2 separate regions of the Homo sapiens genome follow, and region 1 is linked to region 2. Evidence: promoter capture Hi-C in 16 types of primary human blood cells and fetal thymus (Javierre and others, 2016). All regions are on one chromosome and are shown on one strand. Each heading gives the region's core, a stretch centred on a gene start or on the middle of the fragment in contact. The rest is flanking DNA. Distances are from core to core; before and after follow the strand shown. Region 1 overlaps ATE1 (arginyltransferase 1). Region 2 holds the start of SEC23IP (SEC23 interacting protein).

Evidence for each region. The method cuts DNA at HindIII sites, captures the fragments that hold promoters and counts their contacts. A CHiCAGO score of 5 or more calls a contact.
Region 1: a fragment that was not itself captured here is called in contact with the fragment with the promoter of SEC23IP in region 2 in 1 of 17 cell types (M2 macrophages); the score reaches 6.2 in M2 macrophages.

What each region holds. Positions count from the first base shown.
Region 1 is chr10:121,918,055-121,925,157 of GRCh38, reverse strand. ATE1 (arginyltransferase 1) reads left to right here. Exons shown (of 12, transcript NM_001001976.3): 2 at 829-892; 3 at 2,747-2,809. Among named protein-coding and RNA genes, the nearest start is that of ATE1, 6.4 kb to the left of the region's middle. The HindIII fragment of the contact is 1,089 bases long and covers 1,124-2,212 here.
Region 2 is chr10:119,888,072-119,894,250 of GRCh38, reverse strand. SEC23IP (SEC23 interacting protein) reads right to left here and starts at 1,521. Exons shown (of 19, transcript NM_007190.4): 1 at 1,306-1,521. The coding sequence starts at 1,468. RefSeq lists enhancers at 1,273-1,783, 1,784-2,294, 2,295-2,806, 4,607-5,145. The HindIII fragment of the contact is 6,362 bases long and covers 1-3,549 here.

The sequences.
Region 1 (7,103 bases), core at 419-2,918, 2.0 Mb before region 2:
TGAGCCACTGTGCCCAGCTGAGTTACTTTCAGTTCTTACACTTAGAAGGAATATTGTTACATACTTTTCTCCAATTTTTGATGCTCAAGACTGTACTGTAAATATATACCTGTATATAAATCAGGAGAACTAATAAGCACAAAACATTTTGCTAAGTTTTCTGAAGAGACCAGCATGTTAAATCATTGGGGATATTTATTAAAGTTTGAAGGTCTGATGCAGTCTGATTGCAGTGAGGACTTAAATTTATGCTGTCATAGAGACTATTGACTAATCCTCAAATAAATATAATTAACTTCGATGTGTTTTTTTGAATGAAAATATATATAGTGTCATTCTTTATTTGTGCTGTGTGTATGCCCAACTAACAGCTGTGAAGTATGTACAAACTTTTCATTTATCCAATATGAGTGTTTTGGAATTTTAACCTAAACACTCCTATTTTTTTTTTTTTTTTTGAGATGGAGTCTCACTCTGTCGCCAGGGCTGGAGTGCAGTGGCGTGATCTTGGCTCACTGCAACCTCCGCCTCCCGAGTTCATGTGATTCTCCTGCTGCAGCCTCTTGAGTAGCTGGGATTACAGGCGCCCGCCACTATGCCCAGCTAAATTTTTGTATTTTTAGTAGAGATGGGGTTTCACCATGTTGGCCAGGCTGGTCTTGAACTCCTGACCTTGTGATTTGCCCGCCTTGGCCTCCCAGAGTGCTGGGATTACAGGCATGAGCCACCGTGCCCGGACACACACTCCTATTTTTAAACCTCACACTTTGAATTTAAAAAAGAAAAAAGGTTACCCTGCCGTAATTAACACACTACTTATTTTTTCAGGCATGTGGGCACATTCCATGACAGTACAGGATTATCAGGATCTCATAGACCGAGGATGGCGAAGGTAAAGCTTCCAGATACAAAGAGACTTCCTACTGTTACTCAGGTTCTTGAAAAATACAGCATGCCTTTGAAATGCTTTCCTGTTGGAAAGAGGTTTAAGAAAAATTTTTATTATATTCTTTTATGTAGTGATTTTTTGTCTCCTTTTTAAAAAACTTTGTTAGGAAAATGTCAAATATCTATAAAAGCAGAGAGTACATTAGAATGAACCTCAAGTACCTATCACTAAGCTTCAGCAGTTATTAACGTTCTGCCAATCATGTTTGATTCTCCTGCTCCACCTTTTAATATTTAACAGCAAATTACATCAGTAGGTTATTATGACATTTATCCTATCAATAGATAGGCAATAAGTATGTATCTCTAAGAGAGAGGTCTTTTTTTCTTTTTAACTTATCCACAATGCTGTATCACACCTTACAAAATTAATAAAAATTCTTTGATGTTACCTGTTACCTACTTTTTATTAGATTTTCCAGATTGTCTCAAAAATGTCTTCTTTAACAGTTTATTTGGATAAGGATTTCCTTAAAGTCCACACATGGCCTGTTTTGAGTAGTTATTTTTATGTGGATGATTTTTAAGTAACTCTTAGGTAAAGTTCCTTGTGTAAATATAAGTAATATTAAATACTGTACGCTAATACTTGCCAAAGACGTGGGATTGGGAGCACCAGCTGAAATATCACAACTTTCCTTAAACTTAATGAGATTCAAAAGGTAGACATAGGTCAGATTTTAAAGGACTTCACATGCCATGATAAGGAACTTTTTTTTTTAGAGACATGGTCTCGCTCTGTTGCCCAGGCTAGAGTCGCTCTCTTGCCCAGGCTAGAGTACAGTGCCATCATCATAGCTCACTGTAACCCCAAATTCCCACACTCAAGTGATCCTCTTGCCTCAGCCTCTGCAGTGGCTAGGACTACAGGTGTGCATCACAACACCTGGCTAATTTTTCAGTTTTTTGTAAGATCTTGGCTATGTTGCCCGTGCTGGTCTCGAACATCTGGTTGCAAGTGTTCTTCCAGCTTAGCTTTTCAAAGTGTTGGGATTATAGGTATGAACCACCATGCCTGGCCAGAACTTTTTAGAAGGCAGTCATGGAAGGATTTTATGGTAAGAGAGAAATGTGAAGGAATTTGTTTTAGAAAAGATTGTTCAGATGGCTGAGAGGTATTTGAGGGGGGGTCATAGAGGCAGGAAGATGAGTTCAAAGGTTATTGCGCTATCCAGATGTGCGATGATGAGGACTGTCACCTTAGTGGCAATGGTGATAGAGAAGAGGGGACAATTTAGGATAGGGTTTAAAATGAAGGAAAGCTTGCTAATAGGATATAGAGGTGAATTCCAGGGAGGAGTTTAAAATGACTCCCAGGTCTCTGACTTGAGAACAGAATGAACAGTTCTGTTAGTACCATAGACCTGGAATGCATGGAAAGAAGCGGGTTAGTTTTGGGGTACTCCGTGCTGGTGCATGTGGAATACCCAAGTGTGGTTGTCACAGGCATCACATACATGAGTCCCACAGCATCGTGGGCATTTCTCTCATTGCCCTTGTGGTATTGGGGATTGGTGGCAGGTGAAGGCAGAGCAGGGGTGGCAGATGCTGGTGAGAGGGGAACTGAGATGATTGGCCGTGGGGTACACAAGTAAAGCTTTAGGAAATAAAAGGCAGGGTTCTAAACTTTGCTACACGCACTTTGAAGATTATTTGGCTTATGAAGAGTAATTAAACCTACATGCATTTCTACAATGTTGATTAGATTTTTAACCTTAATTTAATGCTCCTGTGCTAGGCTGTTTTGGTGCAAGTGAAAAATATATAAGACATTAACAAACTATTTTTATAATTTTAGAAGTGGAAAATATGTGTACAAACCTGTCATGAATCAAACATGTTGTCCTCAGTACACAATAAGGTAAGAATTTTAATTAGTAGAAAGAGGATTTATAGTATGAAGATTGTGTATAATATTTTAGTAGTCTCTTGTGCTTTTTTAATGTTTATTTCCGCTCTAGGTAGATGTCCTTTAAAAGGAAAAGTAAATGAGTTATGTCTTTTCTTCATACTGATGCTGTATTTATGTGCTGATCAGTAGGTTTTAGTAATATTGTTTGATTGGTTCAGATATAAATATGTGAAAAAAATACCCTCTTAATTTAGCAATCTTGTCAATGAATGCCATGAAATATTGGGAAAATGTTGGTAAATATTCACATTACTTTTGGATATTAAATATTATAGGACTTAGCTTAGAATTTTCTGCATTCTGGTGTATTGCTTGACACAGTGCTTGTGTTCAAGCAATGCTACAGGCTCCTATAAATTACTTGGTAGGTTCACGTTCTCATGTTGTGGGATTCAGGAGGACAAGAGAGACCTCGGGTTAAAACAGGAGAAACTTTATTGAGTGCACTTAGGCCCAGCTGACTCAACGTCTAAAAGACTGGGCCCGGAACAAAGACTTTTATACACAGTTCACAGAAGGGGGTGGGCTAGCTTGAAGCAAGCTTACAGTGGCGTGAAAGCAGGGATACAGAGGCAGGACAAACTCAGGATTGCACATGACCGTTGCCAAGCAACCCAGATGTCCGTTATCTAGGTTTGCCTGGGCTTATCCCATAATCTTCACTATGGTGCCCAGGCAGCTGCAGTTCAGGCCTACTCAGGCTTCTCATGACATTCATTGTACTTCTCAGATAAAACAATACTTGAAGTCACTAGTTACAGAGAACAGGAATCTATGAACTCATTCCGTAAAACAAAGGAAAATTTATTTTTTCTTCTCTGCATGTTGAGTGCTGGGAGAATCTCCAGAGCACACTAGATAATATTATCAAGGCTTTTCCTGGGTCTGGGCCGTGCCTGTTGCTGCCTCTGGGACAAGTCGGCCTAATACAGGAAAGCTTATTTATCTTTCTTTTTAATTTTATTTTTCTTTAATTTCCCACCTCACTCACTTATAAGTGGGAGCTAAACCTTGGGTACTCAGACATAAAGATGGCAAAAGTAGAAGCTGGAGACTACTAGAGGAGGAGGGAGGGCGTGAGCTAAGGGTTGAAAAACCAACTTGGTATGACGATCAGTACCTGGGTGGTGGGATCATCCATATTGCAAACCTCAGCATCATGCAATATATCCAGGTCACCAGCCTGTACCTATACCCCCTGAATCTAAAATAAAAGTTGAAAAAAAAATTAATTGGAAGGAAGAGGGCTTAAATTTAATCTGCCACTTACACTTAGAGTCCAGTTTTTTTTTTTTTTTTTTAAAGAGACGGAGTCTCGCACTGTCGCCTGGGCTGGAGTGCAATGGCGCGATCTCGGCTCACTGCAACCTCTGCCTCCTGGGTTCAAGTGATTCTCCTGCCTCAGCCTCCCGAGTAGCTGGGATTACAGGTGCCTGCCACCACGCCCGGCTAATTTTTTGTATTTTTAGTAGAGATGGGGTTTCACTATGTTGGCCAGGCTGGTCTTGAACTCCTGACCTCATGATCCACCTGCCTCAGCCTCCCAAAGTGCTGATATTACAGGCGTGAGCCACTGCACCTGGCCCAGAGTCCAGTTTTCTTAAATGGGAAACTTAAACCAAAGTCTATTTTCCTACAAAGTCTTCGTTGGATTTTTTCATAATCTTTTGGATTTTCCATGTACCTTCTCACCTCACCCTAACATAGAAAAATCTTCTCTCTTATTCTGGTTATAAGGTCATCATCATCTTTTTCTTCTTTTTTCTTTTTTTTTTTGAGACAGGGTCTTGCTCAGGCTGGAATGCAGTAGCACAACCATGGCTCACTGCAGCCTGCCTGCCAGGCTCAAGTAATCCTCCCACCTCAGCCTCCCAAGTAGCTGGGACTGTAGGTACACACCACCAGGCCTGGCAAATTACATTTTTTTTTATAGAAAAGGGGTCTTGCCATGTTTCCTAGGCAGATCTCACCATGTTTCCTAGGCTGATCTCGCCATGTTTCCTAGGCTGATCTCCAACTTCTAGGCTCAAAGGAGCCTCCTGCCTCAGCCTCCCAAAGTGCTGGGATTATAGGTGTGAGCTACTACTGCACCTGAACCTTTTTTTTTGATAGAAAATGTGAAAAGTGCGTTAACATTTTGAAGCATGTATTTGCCCCCAATTTCAATGTGTATATATACTCATAAAATTAAAAGACAGTTTTACTTTAAGAAATGAAAAATTAAAAAATTAAACAGTTTTTTGTCCATTAGTTTTTTTGTTTGGTCCTCAAAGCTGTCTCCCTTGGTTGCTCTTAACTTGTTTTTGGGTTGCAAACCATTTTGAGAAGTCGATGAGAGCTGGCCTCCTGCCCAAAGGGATGTAGACAAAAATATGTAACATTTTGCATATCCTCCCCACCGAGACTGAGTCTTGCTGTGTCACCCAGGCTGGAGTGCAGTGGTGTGATCTCAGCTCACTGCAGTGTCCGCCTCCTGGGTTCTAGCAGTGCTCTTGCCTTAGCCACCTGAGTATCCGGGACTACAGATGCCCACCGCTAGGCCTGGTTAATTTTTGTGTTTTTAGTAGAGACGGGGTTTCACCATGTTGGCCGCGCTACTCTCGAACTCGTGATCTACCCACCTCAAAGTGCTGGGATTTCAGGCGTGAGCCACCATGCCCAGCACATTTTGCGTGTTAATTTTAGAATGATCGCAGACTCCCAAAGGTTCACTGATACTTGATTAGGAGCTTTTTTTTTGAGATGGAGTCTTGCTGTCGCCCAGGCTGGAGTGCAGTGGTGCTATCTCGGCTCACTGCAACCTCTGCCTCCCGTGTTCAAGCGATTCTCCTGCCTCAGCCTCCCGACTAGCTGGGATTACAGGCGTGCACCACCACACCTGGCTAATTTTTTTGATATTTTTAGTAGAGATGGGTTTCACCATGTTGGCCAAGCTGGTCTCGAACTCCTGACCTCAGGTGATCTGCCCGCTTCAGCCCCCCAAAGTGCTGGTGTATCTGGAGTTGGTTCCTTCTGGTGGGTTCTTGGTCTCGCTCACTTCAAGAATGAAGCCGCAGACCTTCGCAGTGAGTGTTACAGCTCTTAAATGTGACGCAGACCCAAAGAATGAGCAGCAGCAAGATTTATTGTGAAGTGTGAAAGAACAAACCTTCCACAGTGTGGAAGGGGACCCTAGTGGGTTGCCACTGCTGGGTAGGGTGGCCAGCTTTTATTCCCTTATTTGTCCCTGCCCATGTCCTGCTGATTGGTCCATTTTACAGAGTGCTGATTGGTCCATTTTATAGAGTGCTGATTGGTCCATTTTATAGAGTGCTGATTGGTCCATTTTACAAACCTCTAGCCACAGAGCACTGATTGGTGCGTTTTACAATCCTCTAGCTAGCTACAGAGCGCCGATTGGGGCGTTTTACAATCCTAGCTACAGAGAGCTGATTGGTGCATTTTACAATCCTCTTGTAAGAAAAGTTCTTCACGTCCCCCCCACCCCCGCCCCGACCCAGAAGTCCAGCTGGCCGTTGGATTGGCAGAGGATGAGAAAAATGGGGTCTGGTTTGCTGACACTGTGTCATTACACAAAGAATAGAATGACAGAGTATCCTGTGCTGTCCTCTTTCAGTTTTCGTGGTTATAAAGAGAAGGTATCTTCTAAGGCAGAAGTCATTTGTCTTCAATTAGCAATTTATTGGATTATGGACAGGATTCTATTCATAAGTTTGAAGTTGATTGGCTTAATCTGTGATCAGAAAAGGGTGATTTCGATTGGTTAAAGAAAAAAGAATCTAAATTGTATTTGGTGCCTGTTACATGGAAAGCACTATTCTAAGCATATTGCCTTTATAAAAGGGGATTCATTAACATTGCAAAATAAAGTAGTTATGTGATTTTTGCATTTTACGTGGCATCAAATGTTTCCTGAATTGCGTCTCTTTGTAATTCATTATACATCATCTTTTTTTTTTTTTTTTGAGACAGAATCTTGTTTAGTCTCCCAGGCTGGAGTGCAGTGGCGCGATCTCTGCTCACTGAAACCTCCGCCTCCCAGGTTCAAGTGATTCTTCTGCCTCAGCCTCCTGAGTAGCTGGGACTACAGGCGCATGCCACCATGCCCTGCTAATTTTTGTATTTTTAGTAGAGACGGGGTTTCACCATATTGGCCAGGTTGGTCTGGAACTCCTGACCTCATGATCCGCCTGCCTTGGCCTCCCAAAGTGCTGGGATTACAGGCGTTGAGCCACTGGGCCCA
Region 2 (6,179 bases), core at 272-2,771:
CTGGAGATAAAAAGGCAATTAGGTCATAGCTGCTGAAGAAGACTGCAGTCCAAATGGAGAGGCAGGTGTGTTTATTTCACAAACATTAAATCACACTGTCTGGCACGCACTATACTTAGCGCTTTGCAAAAATTAAAGCATTTCTAATTACAATTCTGTGAGGCTACACATACATAGAAACTGAAGCACAGAGAGGTAAAGTAAAATGCCTACAGTCACACAGCAAGTTACTGGCAGGGCAAGGACTGGAATACAGACAGTCTGTGCTCTTAAACACTATGCTCTGGGCAATGCTACATAATCATCAAAAAGCAATCTCCCTGGACAATAATACAAATATGAAAAAAGAGCTAGGAGTGCACATAGGAGTGGGGGCCTAAGAGAACAAGAAACAGCTTCTTGGAAGAAGTGATGTATTGTCTTGAAAGATGAGGAATGGGTGGGGGGTTAAACCTGTAATCCCAGCACTTTGGGAGGCCAGGGCAGGCGGATCACTTGAGGTCAGGAGATTGAGACCATCCTGGCCAACATGGTGGAACCCTGTCTCTACTACAAATACAAAAATTAGCCAGGCATGGTGGCAGACGCCTGTAGTCCCAGCTACTCGGGAGGCTGAGGCAGGAGAATCACTTGAACCTGGAAGGTGGAGGCTGCAGTGAGCCGAGATCGCGCCACTGCATTCCAGCCTGGGCGACAGAGCAAGACTCCGTCTCAAAAAAAAAAAAAAAAAAAAAAAGATAAGGAATGCATTGTATATGTCTACTTCACAAATATTACAGGCTTCTAGAAGAGGGGCACAGTCCATCTTATAAGATATCTTACTGTAACCTAGAAGATATTGTACTGTATCACAACAATCTCCTAGTAGGAGACAGTGTACCGTATCCTAGGAGAGGGGCACAGTCCATCCTAGGAGGTATCTTACCGTATCCTAGGAGTCTCCTAGTGGGAGACAGACTACTGTACCCTAGGAGAGGGCCACTGTTTAATTTATTTGCATTTCCTGCCAGCACCTGGCGTACCAACAACGGGTATTCAGCAAAGATTTGCGGAATGCCAGGGTACGAATGAATGTCCAGCACTCTGGACAACTCGGAACAGGGGGTTTCCGTGAAGAGCAAGTCTCATCACCTGCCACCTCCAAGATCCCAAAGCCCCCGACCCACTCAAACCTGGCCAGTAATGATCCTGGCAAGCTATCCAGAGGGTAGCTCGAGGCAGAAGGAAAAACTCCCGTCTGACCTTTGTCATTGCACGTCCCCCGCCCGCCTCCCACCACACACGGGGCCGCCCTCCCCTTATTACCTCCCGGTAAGAGCAGGGAGGCCGGAGAAGCGGAGGCCTGGGTGACTGGGATGAAGGGCACATTGAAGCTGAACTCCGTGGCCGAGGAGGAGAAAAGTAAGTTAGTGCCCGATGAGGAAGTGGAGGCGCCGCCGCTGCCACCGTTAGGTTTTCTCTCGGCCATGGCTGCGGCCCACCGTCCGATACACGTCTCCGGGTACCCGGTACCACACCACTGACCGGAAACCGATCACGCTCCTGGCCAGCGCACTTCCGCACTTGCGCACAGGAGCCGAAATTACGGGTAGCTAGTCAGCCGCCCTCTCCCTTCCCCTACACGGCGACGCCAGATATCAACATGGCGACACTGTCTTCACGCCCGCGTCTAGCACGTGACACCCTCGGAGGCGGAGGCCGGGCGGGAGGATGGGGACGTGGTCCCCGCAGGTTCTGGATAGACGTGCGAATTGAGACGCAATTGACCCTGAAAGTCACAGGTTGTGGCGGGTATCTATGGGCTTCCTAAAGGTACCGTCAGGATGGCTCTCCTGACAAAGATTTTGGAGGAACAGCGGAATCCTGCTGGACGCTACCGGAAGGAGGAAGGGAGGAAGAGCGTTGTGCGGGAATGGGAATTCGCATGCTAGGCGGAACCAAACACCCTCTCCAAAACCCACTTGTCTTTCTGGATGGAACCGAACATTGTGGTTGACCCAGAAATAGAAGTGGTAAAACATTTTTTAAGTGTTTAATCCATAGGGAGAAAAAAATATTTCGTTTTATTTTTGTTGTTTTTTGTTTTGCATTTGTTTTTTGTTTTTTTGGTTGGTTTTGTTTTTTGTTTTGAGACAAGTCTGCTGTGTCGCCCAGGCTGGAGTGCAGCGGTGCAGTCTGGGCTCATTGCAATCTCCGCCTCCCGGGTTCAAGCGATTCTCCTGCCTCAGCCTCCGAGTAGCTGGGACTACAGGCGTCCGCCACCACGCCTGGCTAATTTTTTGTATTTTTAGTAAAGACGAGGTTTCACCGGGTTGGCCAGGATGGTCTCAATCTCCTGACCTCGTGATCTGCCCGCCTTGGCCTCCCAAACTGCTGGGATTATAGGCATGAACCACCACGCCTGGCCAAAAAAAATATTTAAAAGAGAAATCAAACCAGACGCCATGGCGCAGGCCTGCAATCCCAGCACTTTGTGAGGCAGAGCGGGAGGATAGCTTGAGCCCAGAAGGTTGAGACCAACCTGGCCAACATGGTGAAACCCCGTCTCTACTAAAAATACAAAAATTAGCCGGGCTTGGTGGCATAGCACCTATATTGCCAGCTACTCAGGAGGCTGAGGCGGGAATATTGCTTGAGGCCAAATTAACCCTGATCTTGCCACTCACTGTGCAGCGAGACCCTGTCTCCTTAAAAAAAAAAAAAAGAAAAAAAAAGAAACCAGGGCATTGAAATTAGAGATCTGACATTTTAGATAGCTTTCTATATCCACAGTAAGCTGACTTACTTCAATCCAGGAGGTACTGTGGATAACTTGGACATAATTGTCATCTTTCATAGTTAGAGATTTTGAAGGAAAATATAACTTAAGCCATATTTCAGCTTCTTGGAGGTTGGGAGAGGAGATACCAAAAGAACGCTCAAAATAATGAAACTCTGCTCAGCTGTTTACACATATATAGAACCTAAGTTTATTAATTCAATAACGATTTCATGTGCTTACTGTCAAGAAAAATTTTTTAAGTGGGACACTCGTTAAAGCAGTAAATTAGATTTTATTTAATGAAAACTATTGCTAGGGAATTGGGTCCAGCATGAACTGAACACAACTTTGCTGAAACAAAAATTTGGAGGCTTTTTAGAGGCTGTGGTGTGCTAAGGGAAAGGTGCTGAGGAGTGTGAAGGGTTGGTTCGTCCTGCAACTAGGCCATCTGGGTGTGTTAATCCATGCTTATCCAGAGGAGACATAATTTTTCTGTCTTCATGACAAGCAGTGGTGTAAGAGAGCAAGGTAGCCACAGGGACTGGGAATGAGAATGAGAACCACCTCCTTGAAGGCTTGCAATTCAAGAGACAAACCCCCAGGTCCTTGAGAAGACAGTTCTCAGTGGTCATGTGTCCGGAGTTGGTTCCTTCCGGTGGGTTCTTGGCCTCACTGACTTCAAGAATGAAGCCGCGGACCTTTGTGGTGAGTGTTACAGCTCTTCAAGGTGGCACAGACCCAGAGTGAGCAGCAGCAAGATTTATTGTGAAGAGCGAAAGAACAAAGCTTCCGTAGCGTGGAAGGGGACCTGACTGGGTTGCTGCTGCTGGCTCGGGTGGCCAGCTTTTATTTATTTATTTGTCACTGCCCTCATCCTGCTGCTTGGTCCATTTTACAGAGCGCTGATTGGTCCATTGTAAAGAATGCTGATTGGTGCATTTACAATCCTTTAGCTAGACACAGAGTGTTGATTGGTGCATTTTTACAGAGTGCTGATTGGTGCATTTACAATCTTCTAGCTAGACACAGAGCACTGATTGGTGTGTTTTTACAGAGTGCTGATTGGTGCATTTACAGTCCTTCAGCTAGACACAGAGCACTGATTGGTGCATTTACAATCCTCTAGCTAGACAGAAAAGTTCTCCAAGTCCCTACTCAACCCAGGAAGTCTAGCTGGCTTCACCTCTCAATCCCCCCTCTAAAGAGGACACCCCAAGAGCTGTTGGGAATTGGGCAATGACCTCTGTAGCTACTTCCTGCTGGATGGGTTGAAGAAGGAGCCCTGCAGTTGTAGTGTCCTCCAGAGGGGAACTCTTTATGCCAGTCAAAGGGCCAGCGGGTTGGTGCAGGGGTCCTCAGTAGAAGTTGTTAGTTGAGCTCATTGGGGTTCCATTTGTAAGACCATCTGTAGCTTGATGGCCTCAATCCTAGAGGAAACAAATTTGACAAGGAGGTTAAAAATACAGGGCCCGAAGGTGAATAATAGCAAGATGGCCATCACAGGACCTAGAAAGGGGAAATGCCATATCGCCCAACTCCAGAGGTTGATATAAGAGTTTGAAAGGCGTTGTCTGATTTCAGAAGCCTTTTCCTGTAAACACCAGGCGGCACCTCATCCTATCCCTGACTGGTTAGTGTAAAAGCAACACTCTTCCCCTAAGAAGGTGCAAAGTCCTCCTTTCTCAGCAGTGAGGAGGTCTAGGCCTCGGTGGTTTTGGAGGGTCACTGCTGCCAAAGAGTCTATTTGGAATTGTAGAATAAGGATAGATTTTGTTATTTCTTGCAAACTGTCTGAGAAATCCTTTGAGAGTGTGTGGTAGTAGGATAATATATGTTACACTGTTAACTTTTAGCAAACTTTACTTTTGTTGAAAACCTTGTAAGTTTGGGATTTCAATTATTCTTTGTATTAATAAGACCTTGTTCAATCCATATTAACTTACAATTGGTATAGATGGCTTCTTCCTGATTCTGTGAGTACTTTAAGGTTTGGCTGAGTACTGATAGCTGGAGCACGTTTGAACAGACCAATTATTAGGCAATTTTCCTAACTCTGCTTCTACAAGAGTTTCCTTATCACTTACTGAATACTCATTGTGTCTTTCTCCCTTAATCGCTGGGGAGGAACCAGCTATAGTCCTGTCCTGAAGGGAGTTCCTCCTAGATCTGGTTGGACCTTTGTATGGTAATTAAGATTTAGATCCCCTGTTAGGAAACCTGCTGGGTTAAGGATTTTTGATAGGAAGGCTATGGGTTGTCAGTGGCCTCAGTGCTTTCGGGCTATGCCCTTGTTTACACTGACAACCAGGTGGTGTTGGAGTGTTACAGGGTCATGGAGAAGACCTTCAATTATCAATTATAGGTTTTAAATTTACTCTGGCTTTTAAAGGAATAGGGTACACTGTTTTTTCTTTACTACTTCTCTCCCTTTCTCTCTTTCTTTCTCTTTGACTTTCTGTCTCTTTCTCTCTTTGACTCCTTTTTTGTCTCTGTCTCTTTCTCTCTCTCTCTTCGACTTTCTGTCTTTCTCTCTTTCTTTCCTTCTCTCTGCTGGTCTTTCCCTGCTTCTGCCAGCCGCATATGCTGCTATGCTGCTGTTCTCCCCTCTCCTTCCCCTTTTTGATGGCTTCAGCAGTGTAAGACTGCCACCTCCTTGGGTTTTTGCACTGCATGCAACAACTCCATGATTTCCTTGTGGTATTTAGTGGGGGTTCCCCCGGAGGTTAGGAACTCCCTTTCTTTCCATATTGCAGCATGGGCATGTAGGATTAGATAAGCATAATTGCTATCTGTATACACATTTATTCTTTTTCCCTTTCTAAGGCTCAGGTAAGTGCCAGTAGTTCTGCTAACTTGGTGCTGGTCCCTGGGGGAAGAGGCTTACTTTCAAGTATTGTTACATCACTAACTATGGCATAACCTGCTCTTCGTATCCCATTCTCCACAAATGAACTTCCATCAGTATATAGGTTAAGGTCAGGATTAGCTAAGGGGACTTCTAAGCGATCCTCTTGGGTAGCATAACTCTGGACTATAATTTGTTGGCAGTCATGCTTGATTGGTTCTCCATCCTCTGGGAGAAAAGTGGCGGGATTGAGGGCCACACATATGCGTATTTGAAGCACCGGTCCCTCAAGAAGTAGTGCCTGGTATCTGAGCAGGCAGTTGTCTAATAGCCATAAACTTCCTTTGGCACCTAGTATGCCATTTACATCATGAGTAGTCCAGACAATGAGATCCTTTCCTTGTATTATTTTGATAGCCTCTGACACTGAGATGGCCACCATCACAACTACCCATAAACAGTGAGGCCAGCCTTTTGCTACTATATCAATTTCCTTACTTAGGTATGCCACTGGTTGTGGGGTTGTCCCTCAAGTCTTGAGTAAGGACTCCAAGAGCTATTCCTGCTCTCTCT